Regions from separate parts of the Homo sapiens genome. Here region 1 is linked to region 2. The links are contacts of gene promoters, found by promoter capture Hi-C in human tissues and cell types (Jung and others, 2019). All regions are on one chromosome and are shown on one strand. Each heading gives the region's core, a stretch centred on a gene start or on the middle of the fragment in contact. The rest is flanking DNA. Distances are from core to core; before and after follow the strand shown. Region 1 overlaps KIAA0586. Region 2 holds the start of GPR135 (G protein-coupled receptor 135).

Region 1 (2,700 bases), core at 114-2,613, 1.0 Mb after region 2:
AGACAGAGGAAGTGGCAGGTACTGAGGCCCTAGGATAAGCATAAGTCCTTAGGTTCTGATATGGCTTGGCTCTGTGTCCCTACCCAAATCTCATCTCAAATTGATCCCCATGCGTCACGGGAGAGACCTGGTGGGAGATGACTGGATCATGGGGGCAGTTTCCCCTAATTTGTTCTTGTGATAGTGAATGAGTTCTCATGAGATCTGATGCTTTAAAAGGGCATGGCTTTCTTTGCTCCCTCTCTCCTGCTGCCATATAAGACATGCCTTGCTTCCCTTCGCCATGACTCTAAGTTTTCTGAGGCCTCCCCAGAGATGTGGAGCTGTGAGTCAATTACACCTTCTTGTCTTTATAGATTACTCAGTCTCAGGTAGTTTTTTATAGCAGTGTGAAAATGAACTAATACAGGCTCTTAATCACTTCTGATCATTAAAAGCGTTATTGAATAAAGTTATTTTTGGATTTGAAAGCATTTTAAAGCCTCAAATTATTTTTTGCAAAGACTTTCAAAACCCCCCATATAAATTAATAGCAAAGCTACACTAGGCCGGGCACAGTGGCTCACGCCTGTAATCCCAGCTCTCTGGGAGGCTGAGGCGGGTGGATCACCTGAGGTCAGGAGTTCAAGACGAGCCTGGCCAATGTGGCAAAACCCTGTCTCTACTAAAAATACAAAAAAAAAATTAGCTGGGCATTGTGGCGCATGCCTGTAATCCCAGCTACTCGGGAGGCTGAGGCAGGAGAATCGTTTGAACCCGGGAGGTGGAGGTTGCAGTGAGCCAAGACTGTGCCACTGCACTCCAGCCTGGATGACAGAGCAAGACTCCGTCTCAAAAAAAAAAAAAAAAAAAGCAAAACTACACTAAATAAGAGAAAACTTCAGGGTAAATACCATCCATTAGGATAAATATCACCCATAAGCTATATGCTTTCTATTTTAAATTAGTAAAATTTCTATATAACCTGACACTGTATATGATTGCATAACCTTTAGAAAGCAAAGGGAACCAAAGTAACCACCATAGCTCCAACTTCTAGAAAGGATAAGAGAGGAAAATGGGTTTGTATCTACTAGTTATCACATATTGTCAGCTGTAGCTTACTGATTGCTAAGCAGAAGCTGAGAAACTATAATACATAACCAAAGTCAACAGACTCAGTATATAACCAAAAGTTGTATTTAAATACACAGTACCAGTGAAACAGTAGATGTGACTCAAAATACACAGTGATACATGAAGATGTTTTCAGTTGTGCACAAAAGCAACAAAAAAGTTTTCACCTTTCTACCTAAGTCTCTTTGAAAACCAAACTGCAAAAGTGCTCATCAACACTTTTATAATAAACAGCAAATGGCTGATCTTTCTGTTCATAATGCACCTAGGTCTTCAGGAAAATGTCTACTTTCCTAGATTATAATTTAGATGCTCAAGATTCATCATCACCCACTGTGGGCAATGTGGTGAAACCCTGTCTCTATAAAACATACAAAAAAATTAGCCAGGCGTGGTAGTGTGCACCTGTCATCCCAGCTACTTGGGAGGCTGAGAGGGGAGGATCACTTGAGCCCAGTAGGTCGAGGCTGCAGTGAACCATGATTGTGCCACTGCATTCCAGCCTGGGGGATAGGGTGAGACCTTGTCTAAAAAAAAAATTAAAAAAAAAATCATTTTCTCCTAAATAAAAATTTTATGATGCTTTATCTGAAGATGCCATTTAATCCTACATTTCTTCCCAATTATTCCTATCTTGTGTCTTTTTTAAAATGTTGGTCTATTTCTTCCTACCTCTCCTAAGAGGAATTATTTTTCCATCCCCAAGCATCATATAACTTGAATGGCACGTATAAGCAATAAATAAAAAGCAAAAAGAAACTTTACATATTAAACTGATACTATTAAGAAATGAGATTAAACATTAAAAATGAGATTCCTTACCTTTAACTCGTTCTATTACTTTTGGTCTCTGTGGTCTGGACTTAGGAGATGGAGAATTAAATCTGAGATATGGTCCTTTTTTAAGAGTGCTTCGATGGCCCTGATAAACTGGCTTTCCATAGACTTGTAACATATAATCTTCATCTTGTATTACTGTGGTTGCTTTCAAAAGCCCCTGTGTGTACAAAGTTATTCAACTCACCATGAAAACAGTCATCAAACACTTATCTCATTTTTCTAAAGCCTCCTTTTGCTAGCTTAAGTATTATAACAAGAATGATTAAGTAAAAAATAACCTCTGTTTTCAACAGCCCTTAAATTCTAGATAACAGGTTTCAAGCATTAGTTTGAAAAGCTTTAAATATAAAAATCATCCACCTAAGAAACATGAAAATTTTTACATTACTAAGTATATTTTCAGCACCAACAAGAAACATTTAAACACATTTTACATATTTATTATACTCCAGTACAATAAAAATACAACAACCTTAACCTTTAAATAATTTTATATATTTCTGAACCCACCTTCAACCATAATCTAAATGTCACAGAAAGGGAGCATTTACTGAGAATCTACTAAGTATAAGCATTGAATTAGATGCTTTACTGATCTGCTCAACAATCCATGTTTGGCACTTAGAAACTTATAGCCTAGTTACAGCAGTCAAAAAAATTTCCTCCATACCATCTAGTACCACGCCTTGCATATACTAGGCACTAAACATGCATTTGTTAAACTGAAAAATAAACTATATACAC
Region 2 (2,700 bases), core at 200-2,699:
CATCATACAATGTATAGATGGCCCCTGCAATAAAGAATTATCTGGCCCAAAAGTCCATGACGCTTAGGCTGACAAACCCAGTTTTGGTTTGCCACCTTAAACGTTCTTCTATTTATACTGTAAATTTCCTGTAGGATATTTTTTCTGAATGAAATAAGCACTCCAATACTAATACCATTGATTCTAAGATCTACAAATATACTAGTCATTCTTTAGAGCAGTGTTTCTCAAATTTGTGCATCAGAATCACTGGGAGGGCTTGTTAAAACATAGGTGCCTGGGCCCCACCACAGGAGTTTCAGTAGATCAGGGGTATCCTATGCACTGTAGGCCTGATAATTTGTATTTCTCAAGGTTTCCAGGGGATGTTGATGCTGCTGGTCCAATGTCCATACTCTGTGAACCACTGCTTTAGCGAAGAGCCCAGGGTTAGTTAACCTGAGGGTTTATCACACTTTTCCCCATTAGAGGCCATGCCCAGAAACTTGAGATGCAACTTCCCTGGGTAGCCCTGCCTTTCTTTTCCCCGTATCTCCCAGCCAGGTACCTGGAGCTGCATCTGTGGTGATTGCCAGGCTGGCAGCACCTTAGACTCAAAACATACCCCATTCCTGAGAACAGATGAAGGCTGCTAGCAGGGCAAGGCACCAATCCCTCTCCCCCCATTTATCAGCCAGTAGGGGCCTGAGGTCCAGGCCCTTGGAAATGAAGTAACATCTAAAGGAACTATCCTAGCTCCTCAGAGCACCTGTATCAGAATCACCTACGGGGTTTAGAGTCATGGGCCCATCCTTAGTAATTCTGTCAGCCTGGGAATCTGCATTTTATGAAACTCTTGACATCAGTGCTTCTGTAAGTGTGGTCCTGGGACCAGCATCATCATCACCACCCGCGAACCCGTTAGAGATACAAATTCTTGGGTACTTCCCCAGACATATTCGAAACGCTGGGGTTCAGACCTCGTCACTTGTATTTTAACACGCCCTCTATGTGAATTCTGTTAGCTCAAGTTTGAGAATTACTGGTTTAAATTAGTCTGCTTCTCAAGTTTAAGATGTCTGGATGTAGACTTCTGGATTTTTCTTTCACTTCACTTTCTAGATTCCTTTCCTACCTGTATATACCAAAAGCACCCACAGGAAGCAGAGTGCCCCCCCCACCACTCCCCAAAAGGCCTGCCTGTAGAACATTTGTACCCTACAAAAGAGAGCAAGAGTGAACTTTCGTTGAATCTGGTCATTTGTTTGCATGCCAGTCGGCACTTTATCTGGCCGGACATTGGTCCCTCAGGAGGTCGACCTGGCACTCTCGGAAACCCGAACACCCGGGCCGGTAACCTCCGGAGTGGCGGTGTCGCGGGTCGGCTTTGCAGCGGGTACTGGGCTGCCGTCCCGCCCCGCGCTCCTGCGTAAACACGCGGTTCCCTCGGCAACGCTGGAACCCACGTCAAAGGCTCCGCCAGGTCCCCAGCGACCGCCACCCCTCCGGCCGAGCCCAGCTCCCCGCGGCGGCCGCTAGCCCCCGGCCCCGAGCCACCACTCCGACCTAGCGGCCGCCGCCCCCGGTGCGGGATGAGGAGATCCGCGGCCGCCACTGGGCCCCATGGAGGAGCCGCAGCCGCCCCGCCCACCAGCGAGCATGGCCTTACTGGGCAGCCAGCACTCCGGCGCCCCCTCCGCGGCCGGCCCACCTGGCGGGACTTCCTCCGCGGCCACGGCGGCCGTGCTCTCCTTCAGCACCGTGGCGACCGCGGCGCTGGGGAACCTGAGCGACGCAAGCGGAGGCGGCACAGCTGCCGCTCCCGGTGGCGGCGGCCTTGGCGGGTCCGGGGCAGCGCGGGAGGCGGGGGCGGCGGTGAGGCGGCCGCTAGGCCCGGAGGCGGCGCCGCTGCTGTCGCACGGAGCTGCAGTGGCGGCCCAGGCGCTCGTCCTCCTGCTCATCTTCCTGCTGTCTAGCCTTGGCAACTGCGCGGTGATGGGGGTGATTGTGAAGCACCGGCAGCTCCGCACCGTCACCAACGCCTTCATCCTGTCGCTGTCCCTATCGGATCTGCTCACGGCGCTGCTCTGCCTGCCCGCCGCCTTCCTGGACCTCTTCACTCCGCCCGGGGGTTCGGCGCCTGCCGCCGCCGCGGGGCCCTGGCGCGGCTTCTGCGCCGCCAGCCGCTTCTTCAGCTCGTGCTTCGGCATCGTGTCCACGCTCAGCGTGGCGCTCATCTCGTTGGACCGTTACTGCGCTATCGTGCGGCCGCCGCGGGAGAAGATCGGCCGCCGCCGCGCGCTGCAGCTGCTGGCGGGCGCCTGGCTGACGGCCCTGGGCTTCTCCTTGCCCTGGGAGCTGCTCGGGGCGCCCCGGGAACTCGCGGCGGCGCAGAGCTTCCACGGCTGCCTCTACCGGACCTCCCCGGACCCCGCGCAGCTGGGCGCGGCCTTCAGCGTGGGGCTGGTGGTGGCCTGCTACCTGCTGCCCTTCCTGCTCATGTGCTTCTGCCACTACCACATCTGCAAGACGGTGCGCCTGTCGGACGTGCGCGTGCGGCCGGTGAACACCTACGCGCGCGTGCTGCGCTTCTTCAGCGAGGTGCGCACGGCCACCACCGTCCTCATCATGATCGTCTTCGTCATCTGCTGCTGGGGGCCCTACTGCTTCCTGGTGCTGCTGGCCGCCGCCCGGCAGGCCCAGACCATGCAGGCCCCCTCG

Evidence for each region. The method cuts DNA at HindIII sites, captures the fragments that hold promoters and counts their contacts. A contact is called where the count stands out against the background at its distance.
Region 1: a contact is called between a fragment that was not itself captured here and the fragment with the promoter of GPR135 in region 2, in 2 of the 25 tissues and cell types used here (mesenchymal stem cells and mesendoderm cells).

Annotation. Positions count from the first base shown.
Region 1 is chr14:58,460,399-58,463,098 of GRCh38, reverse strand. It overlaps KIAA0586, which reads right to left. Exons shown (of 31, transcript NM_001329943.3): 14 at 1,939-2,113. Among named protein-coding and RNA genes, the nearest start is that of KIAA0586, 34 kb to the right of the region's middle. The HindIII fragment of the contact is 9,444 bases long and covers 1-2,700 here.
Region 2 is chr14:59,464,129-59,466,828 of GRCh38, reverse strand. It overlaps GPR135 (G protein-coupled receptor 135), which reads left to right and starts at 1,449. Exons shown (of 1, transcript NM_022571.6): 1 at 1,449-2,700. The coding sequence starts at 1,603. It also overlaps a transcript of L3HYPDH not described here. RefSeq lists a silencer at 1,379-1,918. The HindIII fragment of the contact is 12,129 bases long and covers 1-2,700 here.